Regions from separate parts of the Homo sapiens genome. Here region 1 is linked to region 2. Evidence: promoter capture Hi-C in human tissues and cell types (Jung and others, 2019). All regions are on one chromosome and are shown on one strand. Each heading gives the region's core, a stretch centred on a gene start or on the middle of the fragment in contact. The rest is flanking DNA. Distances are from core to core; before and after follow the strand shown.

Region 1 (6,737 bases), core at 2,206-4,705, 310 kb before region 2:
GCTGATTCACAAATACTTGATTGACAGGTTTTATATATCACTGTGGCTCATCAGCTTGTATGTTGTTGGGGCCAGAATCTATACTTACACTTCATTCAAATTTGATTTTACAGAAGAGTTGGGGTTTTTATTTTTCTTTTAATTAAGAGAGCTGTGAAATTATTACCTATAATTCTAAATCTCATTTAATTCCTCCCAATAGGATTCAAGATGGATTGTCATCAAAGTTCACTTCTTTAACAAAAGTGGTTTATGACTTTAATAAAATATTAGAGAATGGAAGGATCTGTGGAAGCCCTTTACAAAAACTTGTGATAGAAAGTTTTGATGATGAGCAGACTTTGCAACAACTGGAATTGCAAAATGAACCAATTTTACAATGCTTCCAAAATGCAGTTAGTGAAACAAAGATGAAGACATCAGTCTTCTCCCAGAGAGTGAAGAACAGGAGTGTGAAGAGGATGGTTCAGAGACAGAGACTGGTGGCCAGGAGGACCTAGAAGATTTACAGGAGGAAGAGGAAGTGTCAGATATGGGTGGTGACAATCCTGAAGTGGGCAAGAAAGCTAGAAACTCAAGCAAATTTGAGCTGAGGAAAAGCCCAGTTTTCAGTGATGAGGATTCTGACCTTGACTTTGATATCAGCAAATTGGAACAGCAGAGCAAGGTGCAAAACACAGGACATGGAAAACCAAGAGAAAAGTCCATAATAGACGAGAAATTCTTCCAACTCTCTGAAATGGAGGCTTATTTAGAAAACAGAGAAAAAGAAGAGGAACGAAAAGATGATAATGATGATGAGGTGGAAGATACTGATTTTTTTTTGAAGATATTGATTCTGATGAAGATAAAAGGGGACTGTTTGGAAGTAAAAAACTTAAGGTTAAGTTTGAGAAAGGAGAGAGCACTTTCCTCCTCCTCAAATTAGCTTTTGTTCTGTTTTTCTAGGAGAGATGTAATTGTAGTTAGAAGGTTTAGAGCTAAGATATATTATGCTTTGTTTTATCAGTTATAAATGAATCTGTACTTCCATTCAGTTTATGTTCCAGTTGTTCTTATAATAGTTTTATGGTAGTGTTTTTAGTTGCCAATTTCACCTAGTAACTATTTTTGACTTGTAGTGTTAAGTTAGAAAGTAATATAGACATACAGTATATATATATGCATGTGTTAATGATGTATTTTTCTATTCCTAATTAATAGTTTTAAAAATCTTTTTATTTTAGTCAGGTAAAAGTTCCAGAAATGTGAACAACAAAGATTTTTTTGATCCAGTTGAAAGTGATGAAGACATAGCAAGTGATCATGATGATGAGCTGGGTTCAAACAAGATGATGAAATTGCTGAAGAAGAAGCAGAAGAAGGAAGCATTTCTGAAATGTGAGTATTTTGAAACATCCTTTACTTTGTGAGCTGGAATTGCCCAATCAGTGTTTGTATTTGTGGTTTTCACATATGTTTGTTTTAAGAAGTTAGATACTCTCCTATCAGATCTTCTCAAGATAGCCAGAGGAAAGTCACTGGATTTAAACGGACATTAGAGATCATTTAATGAAGAAAAATATTACTGACAGTAGCAATCAAACCTTTCTTACCAGGAACTTTGATTTGGTTTTGTGCCCCCAAAATCCTGTTATTTTTGTGAGATAAGAGGTTTGTATTATAGATTGATGAATAATTTATTTTCTATATATTGGACCCTTTTTGTTTCTTACATAGCATTTCACTTAAATGATAGCTTCTCTTCCTTAATACCTGAATGATTTTGGAAGTTCTAAGTATCTGGTTGCATTAGGCATATAAAAGAGGAACTTTGTTAAGGGAAAATATGTTTCCTTTTGTTTTTCTAATGGAAAACAATATATTTCTTTTTATAAGAGTTTTGGTAGTGTAGGGATGAAGGTGATCACCTGGAAGAAAGAGAAGACAGTAAACAATGTAAAGAAAGCTTGAAAAGAGTGACTTTTGCTTTGCCGGATGATGAGGCAACTGAAGATGCAGGTGTTTTAAATGTAAAGAAAAATTCTGATGAAGTTAATCTTCTTTTGAAAAAAGACAGGAAAAGGTAATTAGGAATTTAAGGAATTTTTAATATGCTTCGCATGATTGTGGAACTCACAGACTACTAACAAATCTTCCCTATTTTCTTTCTTTTTTTTTTGAGATGGAGTCTTGCTCTGTCACCCAGGCTGGAGTGCAATGGCGTGATCTCGGCTCACTGCAGCCTCCACCTCCCGGGTTCAAGTGATTCTGCCTCAGCCTCCTGAGTAGCTGAGATTAAAGGTGCATTCCACCATGCCTGGCCAATTTTTGTATTTTTAGAAGACATGGGGTTTCACCGTGTTGGCCAGGCTGATCTCGAACTCCTGACCTCAGGTGATCCTCCTGCCTTGGCCTCCCAAAGTGCTGAGATTACAGGCGTGAGCCACTGTGCCCTAGCCTTCCCTATTTTTCTTGTTGTAACTATTAACCATCCTTTGAAAACAAATATCTTGGCCAGGTGTGGTGGTTGATGCCTGTAATCCTAGCACTTTGGTAGTCTGAAGCGGGAGGATCACTTGAGCTCAGGAGTTCAAGACCAGCCTGGGCAACATAGTGAGGCCCTGTCTCTACAAAAAATAAAAAAATTAGTGGGGCATGGTGGTGTATGCCTGTAATCCAGCGACTCAGGTGGCTGAGGCGGGAGGATCACTTGAGCCCAGGAGGTTGATGCTGCAGTGAGCTATGATCACATCACTGCTTTCCAGCCTGGGTGGTGGAGCAAGATCCTGTCTTCAAACAAACAAACAAACAAACAAACAGAAAACTGAAGATCTTGCTGCTACTCTCTAAAGCAAAAGCACATCTTATAGAGATGCCATATGGAAAGCATCTGATTTGCAGAAATCAGTGCCTGCGTTACCCAGCCTATAGCTTTCAATTTGGGGCCTGCGTGTAAAATAGTTGTTTCTTTTCTCTCTCCCTTGTGTCTTTATATGTATAGCCTGTCTCTCCTGACAAAGCTGTCCTGAGAGCCTCTTCTTGTAACTGTTTTGACTGCTCTAGAGGATACCGCCTATGTCTTTAAGGTGCTCCACAGATTTTGGTGAATGTCAAATAGCTGTAATTTTAATTAATACCAGGACAAACATATCTTCCCAAAGTATGTCATGATTTCAGACAAGTGAAATCTCATTAATTTTAGTAGATATAGTCTGGCTCCAATAATTTGGCTATATTATTTATCCAATCCCAAAATTTTATTATAATAAAAATGAGAATAGTGCCAGGCACAGTAGCTCACACTTGTAATCCCAGCACTTTGGGAGACTGAGGAGGGAGGATTGCTTGAGCCCAAGTGTTCAAGACCAGCATGGACAACACGGTGAAACCCCGTCTCCACTACAAATTTAAAAAATTAGCTGGGTGTGGTAGCATGAGCCTATAGTCTCTGCTACTCGAGAGGCTTATCGGGGATGATCACTTGAGTCCAGCAGTTCAAGGCTGCAGTGAGCTATGATTGGACTAGGCACTCCAGCCTGGGCAACAGAGCTGGAGAACAGGCAAATAAACTATACCAAGAATATCAAAAGAATTATTTTTAAAATCTGCGAATCTAAATTAAATTCATCGTTGTCAGATTGTCCCAAGAAAATAAATTCTAAAGGGGGAAAAAAACCATAAAGTATCAATGAGTTAGTGTCCTCCCATCCCACTCCTCCCACCCTTCCCCCACAAAAAAGAAAGAAAGGTTTGGTTTTGCTTTGAAATTATATCAGACCTTCAAGTGAAATTTTCAGTAAATCACAAATAATTTATTGCAATTTCCACAGATAAAGAATAAAATAGAACTTTCAAACTTTTTTCTTTTCAAACTGTTAGAACATGAAAACCCAAACCTGACAAAGGTGGCGTTAAAACACACACACTCTCTCATTCATGACTAGTGATGCAAACATAGCACAGTGGGAAAATTATGCCACACAACCACATGAACCTTATCCTTTTGAATCACTATTAGAAGATCTGATATGATTCCTGGTTGCAAGACGTTAAGGAGAAAATACACGGTTCCCTCCATATATGTTAGAAAGACATTTGATAAAATTCAATATTTATTTCTGATTTTTTTTTAACTCCTAGTGGGTTATAAATACATCTAGCCAAAAGCTGCCATCATGCATGATGGGTGAAATTCTACAAACATCCCTTTAAGATCAGGAATAAGACAAAATGTCCAGTATTACAGTTACCCCTGTTAATTAACACTAACAGTTAATAGCCACATAAGCCAGTGCAACTACAAAAGATAAGAGATTAGGAAAACTTCCAGGAGCAGTGGTTCACACCTGTAATCCCAGCACTTTGGGAGCTCAGGAGCTCTCAGCACTTGAGCTCAGGAGTTTGAGACCAGCCCAGGCAACATGGTGAGACCTCATCTCTGCAAAAAAATACAAAATTAGCTGGGCGCGTTACATGTGCCTGTGTCCCAGCTACTTGGGAGTCTGAAGTGAGAGGACTGCTTGAGCCTGGGAGATGGAGGTTGCAATGAGCTGAGATAGTGCAGCTGTACTCCAGCCTGGGCAACAGAGCGAGACTCTGTCTCAAAAAAAAAAAAAAAAAAAAAAAGATTAGGGATACTAAAATGAAAACATTAGTGTTTGGAGAGAAAACCGAAAGGATAAACTGAATCAATATTAGGAAAATAAGAGAATTCTGTAAGTTAGCTGAAAAAGCTGGCATTTTATACACTGAAGTCATAATTGTTGTCTTTTAGAAGTTAGAGATAATAAGAATTTGAGTTTAAAGTCAAAAGGGTCAGACTCCATCAAATACTAATATCCTAATCAAAGAATTACTTGGCCAGGTGTGGTGGCTCACGCCTGTAATCTCAGCACTTTGGGAGGCCAAGGTGGGTGGATCACGAGGTCAGGAGATCAAGACCATCCTGGCTAACATGATGAAACCCCATCTCTACTAAAAATACAAAAAATTAGCCAGGCGTGGTGGCGGGTGCCTGTAGTCCCAGCTACTCCAGAGGCTGAGGCAGGAGAATGGCTTGAACCCGGGAGGAGGAGCTTGCAGTGAGCTGAGATCATGCCACTGCACTCCAGCCTGGCCAACAGAGTGAGAGACTCCATCTAAAAAAAAAAAAAAAAAAAGAATTACTTAACTTTAGGATGCTCTAATAATCAAAATTGATAGTGGCTTGTGAACAGATAGATCACTTGAATAGAATAGAGCCCAGAAATAAACCCAAATGCTTCTGAGGGAGTTTAGTATATTATAAACATGAAATTTTAAATAAATGAGGATAAGAAATTATTTGCAGCTCACCTCACCATAGGCAGCAGGAATAGGAGGTCATTGGCAGAATAAAAAGATGGTAAGAACAGAACAGAATTATAGAACAGTACATTTTTTGCTTCCCCACTTTTCAAAGTATTTTTTGTTTTTACACAAGTATAATTTTATTTTCTAAATGTATACTAATTTTTTTGTCTCTTTCTTAGATGAATGAAAAAAATTACATCTTTAGAAAAAGAGTTATTAGAAAAAAGCCTTGGCAGCGTCGGGGGGAAGTGACAGCACAGAAGAGACCAGAGAATAGCTTCCTGGAGGAGACCCTGCACTTTAACCATGCTGTCTGGATGGGTACAGTGCCCTCTTCTGCAAAGAGTTCACTTCTATGCTTTTTCTGTGGTTCCATTTCATAGAAAGATTTGGGGCGATGTTTCTTTTCCCTTAACTTTTTATTTTAAAAACTTGCAAACACAGAAAAGTTGATAAAATCATACAGTGAACATCTGTATTCTATTCAACTGGATTCACTAGTTCACATTTTGTCATATTTGTGTTCTCTTTTCCCCATATGGAAGATTGTATATTTGCCCTTTTTCCCCCTGAATCATTTCAAAGTAAGTTGCCAGTATCATAGCATTTCACTGTTAAGTACTTTTGCAGATATCTCCTAAGAACCAGGATATTCTCCTATATAATCACAATACCATTAATCCACCCAAAACATTTAACATCAGTACACTAATGATACCTACTGTATAGATTATAATCAGCTTCCTTGCAGTAATCTGTTTAGAAGACTTGCATCCTGTCACTGTCCACTGATTAAATTTTGAACTCTTAACTTGAAACCCTGGTCATCTCATTGCCTTCTTTTTTATACCCATTAAGTCAAAATAAGTTTTCATTTTATTTCAACAGAAAAGAGAATGGAAAAGAGGGGAAGAGTCCCTGGTACCTTGGATAAAGTATGAGCACTTACTACCATATGTATTCTAGTTCTGTAGTTTTCAAACTTCAGGGAGCATCTCAAGGCTTATTAAAGCACAGATAGCTGTCCCTCTTCCCCACTTTCTGATTCAGGAAGTGTGGGGCTGGTCCAGGAATTTGCATGTCTAACAGGTTCCCACGTGTTGCTGATGCTGAGGGTCTAAGGACTACAATGCGAGAATCAGTGGTTTAGTGGATATCTATCTAATGAATACATGTTATATTTCCTTTAGCACTTGTGATTACAGGGGAAACACCTTTCAACTGTAATCAGTTATTACAGTTATTATTATTAACTGTAATATATTAACTGTAATTATTATTAACTGTATATTATACAGTTAATAATATATATTAACTGTATGTTATACAGTTAATAATATATATTAACTGTATATATAACTGTATATTAACTGTATATTATTATTAACTGTAATATATTAACTGTAATCTGTTAATATATCATT
Region 2 (6,497 bases), core at 172-2,671:
CTGCACAGAAAGCCTCTAGCATAGGGTGAACCCTTAGTAAACAGTAGCTTTTATTGTGAATAATTCCCAAGGCAACCCGATTTTCACACCCATTTTGCAGATACAAAAACTGAAGCTGAGGATGGTTCAGTGAGTTTCCAAGGTCACAAAGGAAGGGCTGCCTATGGGGGGGAATCTATGCCCATGTTAGTAACACTGCTGTTATATAAACATAAGGGGTCAGCGGGGCGCAGCGGCTCATGCCTATAATCCCAGCACTTTGGGAGGCCGAGGCTGGAGAATGGCTTGAGCCTAGGAGTTTGAGACCATCCTGGGGAATATAGTGAGGCCCTATCTCTATAAAACAAACAAACATAAGGGCTCATTTTTACTAGTTGTAAAAGGGCCCTTTTACTAGTTGTAAAAAAGGCTCGTTATAAGGCCTCTCACTGCCTAATCAGCTAGGTTTGCCAAAATGAGGAAGACAGCTCCAGCCAGTCTCCTGATCTTCTCTGGGATCAGGGTGGGGAGGAACCCCCTTCCTACCCATAAACCCCTAAGAGTCTTCGCTCACATTCCACACTGGTGTCTTTCTGTTCCTTGTCCACTTTCGAGTTCAACCCTTTCAGAACCAGCCCTACTGTGGGGGGTGGGGGATGGTTAGTTTGTTATCTTGGGTTTGACAGTACAAAGGCAGAGGCATTTCCTGCTTAAAAGGCACATGAGAAAGGAGGAGGAGGGCGAACTGGAGGAATAGGAGGAGGAGGGAATCATCAGCATTCTGGGTTAGAACAAACAAATGTCCTCCGTTTTTCTCCAACTCCTTAGATCAAGGGTCCTCAAATTTGGCTGCCAGCTGGAATCTCTTGCAAACATTTTAATACCCAGATGTCCAGTCCCCCACCCAGACCAATCACATCTGAGTCTCTGGGGGGGGGCGGGGGTGGAACTAGGGCATCGGTATTTTTTTAATGCTTCCCAAGCAACGCCAACGGGCAGACAAGTTTAAGAAGTGGTGCTCTGGACCTTATCAGCACTCGGCTGCCACCCTGGAGTGGCTCTGGGCGACAGTGGCTGCTTTCCGCTTCGAGGACGCCCGGCTTGGGGATTCGGGCATGCTCTGGGAGGCGAGGGCTGGGGAGGATGCGAGCGTGCCAGCGACCTGGTGCTCTGCCTTGCTCTAGGCCCAGCTCCGAGGCTGCGGGTCTCTGGGTCCCCCCCACGGCTACAACACGTGCTGCCGCCCCGACTCCTCCGGTTATCTCTGCAGACCGCAAGCGGTGCCCAGCGGCCGCCCCGCTGTCCACCCCGACCTCAGAGGCTCCAGGGAGACGCCCGGGGCTCAGGAATCCTACCTTGGCTGCCGGCGCTGCCCTCCAGTCCCCGGAATCCTGGGACTCAGGTTCGAGCTGTCGCTGTCGCTGTCGCTGCGCCTGTGAAGCGCCCACTAGAGCGCAGGCGCCACCTAGTGGGCGCGGGGCGGCTGCGCAGGGACCGCGCTGGCAGGCGGGAGCGCAGTCCAGGGCGGAAATGCAGCCAGGGCTTCTTCCCACGTGGGCGGTTTTCCAGCGCGCCGCCAGCCCTGTGGCCAGATCCGGCCTGGGGCGGGACCACCTTCACCCGCTGCGGGGCACTGGGATCTAAACTTGGTGAACTTTCTCTTGGGGCACGGAGGGACCCCTCGGCCTGGTATCCATCCTCCGGTTTTCCGGGCTGAGCACAAGGATCTTTCCCTTCATCCAGCAGCTTTCAGTGCACCCCACCTTTGGCACTGCTTCTCTTTTAAATGTGCTGGGACCATCCGAGGCTGGGGTTCTCTCCAACCCAGGGAGGCCCTTCGCCTATCAGCAACCATTTTTTCCTGCCACCCCCTAAACCGTCCCTGAATGAGAGAAACAGCCTGCTCTGCTGGCTTGCTCTACAGAGGCCAGGACTGGTGGAGGATGGGTGTGTGCCAGCGACCTCGTGCTCTGCTCTGCTGGAAGGCCTTCTCTGAGCAGTGGAAGGGGAAGGGGCGGCTTAAGGGAATTGTGTTTTTTGTTTTTTGTTTTGTTTTGTTTTGTTTTTGTAGAGACAAGGTCTCTCTATGTTGCCCTGGTGGCTCTTGAACTCCTGGTCTCAAGCGATCCTCTCACCTGCAGCCTCCCAAAGCACTGGGATTACCGGAGTAAACTATGGCTCCCAGCTGCCTGGTATTCTTTCAATGAAGACATGCCAAAACGCTTACAAATATGGTGGACATTTAATGGTTTATATTTCATTTATGTCTTCATTTAACAACGATTAACTGAGCACCTACTATGTGCCACTTTTCTACAATCAAGGGATACAATGAAGAACAAAACACAAAAATCTCTGCTTTTGTTGAATTCACATTTAATGTAACACATGAATACTTTTAACACACCCAACGATCTAATGCAAAGCGATTGAGCTCGTTGTGAGATAAGTAGAGGATTTATTAAAAATATCTATATTTAGGGCCAGGCACCGTAGCTCACGCCTGTAATCCCAGCACTTTGGAAGGCTGAGGCAAGAGGATCGCTTGAGGTCAGGAGTTTGAGACCAGCCTAGCCAACATGGCAAAACCCAGTCTCTACAAAAAATACAAAAATTAGCCGGGCGTGGTGGCAGGAGCCTGTAATCCCAACTACTCCAAGGCTGAGGTGGGAGAATCCCTTGAACCCGGAAGGAGGAGGTTGCAGTGAGCTGAGATCGCACCACTGCACTCCAGCCTGGGTGACAGAGTGAGACTCTGCCTCAAAATCAATCAATCAATCAATCAATCAATCTATGTTTAGGGCGCCAAGGGCAGACATTCCTGGTGATGGATATAAGCATTACAGAGTTCTATGGGAACGTCTTCACGTTTTCTTGTAATCCTGGCAGTTTATCTCTGTGGCAACATTTGGAGATAATGCCTTCAGTGGAAATTTCAGGTGATTTGTGAAAGTTAGGCCTGCAATCCTCCTTTCCCCCTCCCCCCGGCCCCCACTCTGCTCCCCCAGGACGCTCTGTCATTGTTCTAGCCCAGTGTGAGTTTGTGTGTGAGTGTGTGCCTATTTAACCTTTGGACTCTCTGTACTGGTGTAATCTGGTCAAAGTGAATATCAAGGGCAGAGGAGGACAAGGAGGAGCAGGAGGAGAAGGAGGATGAGGAGCAGGAGGAGGAGCAGGAGGAGGAGGAGCAGGAGAAAGGAGGAGAAGCAGGAGCAGGAGGAAGAGGAGCAGGAGAAGAAGGAGCAGAAGGAGGAGGAGCAGGAGGAGGAGAAGGAGGAGGAGCAGGTGGAGGAGGAGGAGCAGGAGGAGGAGAAGCAGGAGGAGCAGAAGGAGAGGAGGAGCAGGAAGAGGAGGAGAAAGAGCAGGAGGAAGAAGAGGAGGAGAAGCAGGAGGAGGAGGAGGAAGAGCAGGAGGAGGAGGAAGAGCAGGAGGAGGAGCAGGAGGAGGAGGAGAAGGAGCAGGAGGAAGAGGAGGAGAAGCAGGAGCAGGGGGAGGAGGAGGAGGCAGAGCAGGAGGAGGAGCAGGAGGAGGAGGAGGAGGTGTCATCTGTGGACAATACCTGGAAGGGCAAGGGGTGGTGGGTGTCACTAAAAGGAACCAGCCCCAGCTACTTCACTGCAGGCTGGTGCCCTGGTGAAGGTGAATCAGTCAGAGGAGTGCTGACTGCCCATGGTAAGTACCAGCTGCCAGACAATTTCCCATTCTTTCACTTTAAAGTGTCTGAGTCATGTCCAGACCATTCTTGCCCCATCTTTGCAACAGCTCCCTCCCCACCACTGTGCCCCAAAGCATGCCTGGGCAAAGTCCTAGATTACAACCTCTGGATTCTGGCATCACCTGATGAGATTAAGTCTTCCTAGTGACTTTCTCTTCTGAGTTCTCCTGGCATTTTTCTCATTCTGCTAATCACAGTGTTTCTGGAAACTGCAGAGTTATCAACAGATCTGTTTTCTCCATGGAAAACAGGAGTTTTGGTAGGCTGAAGTATGTAAATAACAATAATAAAATATTTATAACGTGTTAGACACTAACAGTTTTCTTTAAGAGATGGGGTCTTGTTCTGTCATCCAGGTGATCATTGTTCATTGCAGCCACAAATTCGAGCTCAAGGGATCTTCCCACCTCAGACTCCCAAGTAGCTGGGACTGCAGGCATGTGCCACCATGCCTGGCTAATTTTTAAATTTTAATTTCTTTTTTTTTTAAGAGATGGGGTTTATTGTTTTTTTTTTTTTTTATGTTGCTCAGGCTGGTCTAGAACTCCTAGCATCAAGCATTTCTCCCACCCCAACCTCCTAAGTAGCTGGGATTATAGACACAAGCTGCCATACCTGGCTCATGCACTAAGGATTTTAGATTGACAATTTAGTTTAATCTTCACAGTAATCCTACAAAGTAGGCACTGTTACTCTCCCCACTTTCTCAGCGAAGAAACTGAGACTTGCGATGTTTAAGTAACTTGCCCTAGGTAGAGGAGTTAGCAAGTAATGTACCCAGAACGTGAATCTGGATTATCTTATTCCAAGGCACATGCCCTGAACACCTCACTACTGTTTACTAAGCACCTACTATGTGCTGGACGCTGTGCTTTATATATGGAACAGGATAGGCAAGGTACTCATTATATATATATATATATATATATATATATATATATATATATATTTATACTTTTAAGTTGTAGGGTACAGGTGCACAATGTGCAGGTTTGTTACATATGTATACATGTGCCATGTTGGTGTGCTGCACCCATTAACTTGTCATTTACATTAGATATATCTCCTAATGCTATCCCTCCCCCCTCCCCCTACCCCACAACAGGCCCCGGTGTGCGATGTTCCCCTTCCTGTGTCCAAGTGTTCTCATTGTTCAATTCCCACCTATGAGTGAGAACATGCGGTGTTTGGTTTTTTGTCCTTGCGATCATTTGCTGAGAATGATGGTTTCCAGCTTCATCCATGTCCCTACAAAGGACATGAACTCATCATTTTTTATGGCTGCATAGTACTCCATGATGTATATGTGCCACATTTTCTTAATCCAGACTATCATTGTTGGACATTTACTCATTTTTATCCCTTTTGCTTTCTTGTTCTGTTCACCCTTTTCTTCAAAGGGAAAATTTTGTTTACTTTTGTTTTTTAAAATAAATTCATAAAATTATGTTATGAGATGTGACCTAATTTTTAGTAAGAAAGGGAATATTTATCTTCTAGAGTGAGTCTCCATTAAAGAGGGTGAGGATCAGGCCAGAGGCAGTGGCTCACACCTATAATCCCAGTACTTTGGGAGGCCGAGGCAGGCGGATCACGAGGTCAGGAGATCAAGACCATCCTGGCTAACACGGTGAAACCCTGTCTCTACTAAAAATACAAAAAATTAGCTGGGCATGGTGGTGGGCGCCTGTAGTCCCAGCTACTCAGGAGGCTGAGGCAGGAGAATGGCGTGAACCCGAGAGGCGGAGCTTGCAGTAAGCCAAGATCGCACGACTGCACTCCAGCCTGGGAGACAGAGCGAGACTCCGTCTCAAAAAAAAAAGAGGGTGAGGATCCTCTGTGGTCTAAAGTGGATGGAGCTAGAAATGGTGGCACTGGAGTCATGGGCAAGATGGTGTCAGGTCCCCAGCAGAAGGCGTAGAGAAGGAAAGAGGGAGAAATGCCAAAGAGACCAAAGGGAAAGGGCCTGGGTACCCGTCCCAGAAGGACACTTGGTCTTGTAAGGCTGGCTTGTGGACTGACTGGCAACTTAACTCTTGAGGTCACAGTGTGTCTATGATTGGTAGGAATAAGACTGGTCACATTCTGGTCCTGGATTGTACCTGCAAACCCTGTCAGGTGTTATGAAGTGTAATAGCAGATGAACTGATTCTGTCTCATTGACTCTTTCCAAAAATCCCAGGAAGCAATTATTTTATTTTATTTTTTTTGAGACGGGGTCTCATTCTGTCACTCAGGTTGGAGTGCAGTGGTGTGATCTTGGTTCACTGCAACCTCCACCTCCCAGGCTCAAGTGATTCTGCCACCTCAGCCTCCCAAGTAGCTGGGACCACAGGTGTGTGCCATCATGTCTGGCTAATTTTTTATATTTTTGGTAGAGACAGAATCTCACCATGTTGCTCAGGCTGGTCTCAAACTCCTGAGCTCAAGCCATCCACCTACCTTGGCTTCCCAAAGTGCTGGGATTCCTGGTGTGAGCCACCATGCACAGCCCAGGAAGCAGTTATTATTATTATTTTGAGATAATACTACTCCTACCCAGGCTGGAGTAGGGTGGAGCAATCTCAGCTCACTGCAACCTCTGCCTCCCAGTTCAAGCGATTCTCCTGCCTCAGCCTACCAAGTAGCTGGGACTACAGGCACCTACCACCACGACTGGCTAATTTTTGTATTTTTAGTAGAGACAGGGTTTCACCATGTTGTCCAGGCTGGTCTCGAACTCCTGACGTCAAGTGATCCGCCCACCTCGGCCTCCGAAAGTGCTGGGATTACAGACGTGAGCCACCGTGCCCGGTCGCAGGAA

What was found. Contacts are between HindIII fragments. The study calls those that stand out against the background at their distance.
Region 1: a contact is called between a fragment that was not itself captured here and the fragment with the promoter of CHD9 in region 2, in 1 of the 25 tissues and cell types used here (spleen).

Annotation. Positions count from the first base shown.
Region 1 is chr16:53,364,785-53,371,521 of GRCh38, reverse strand. It overlaps the pseudogene MPHOSPH10P1. Among named protein-coding and RNA genes, the nearest start is that of RBL2, 66 kb to the left of the region's middle. The HindIII fragment of the contact is 6,033 bases long and covers 439-6,471 here.
Region 2 is chr16:53,049,915-53,056,411 of GRCh38, reverse strand. CHD9 (chromodomain helicase DNA binding protein 9) reads right to left here and starts at 1,421. Exons shown (of 39, transcript NM_001308319.2): 1 at 1,335-1,421. CHD9NB (CHD9 neighbor) reads left to right here and starts at 3,515. Exons shown (of 3, transcript NM_001396020.1): 1 at 3,515-3,651. RefSeq lists enhancers at 1,034-1,083, 596-1,127. The HindIII fragment of the contact is 13,928 bases long and covers 1-6,497 here.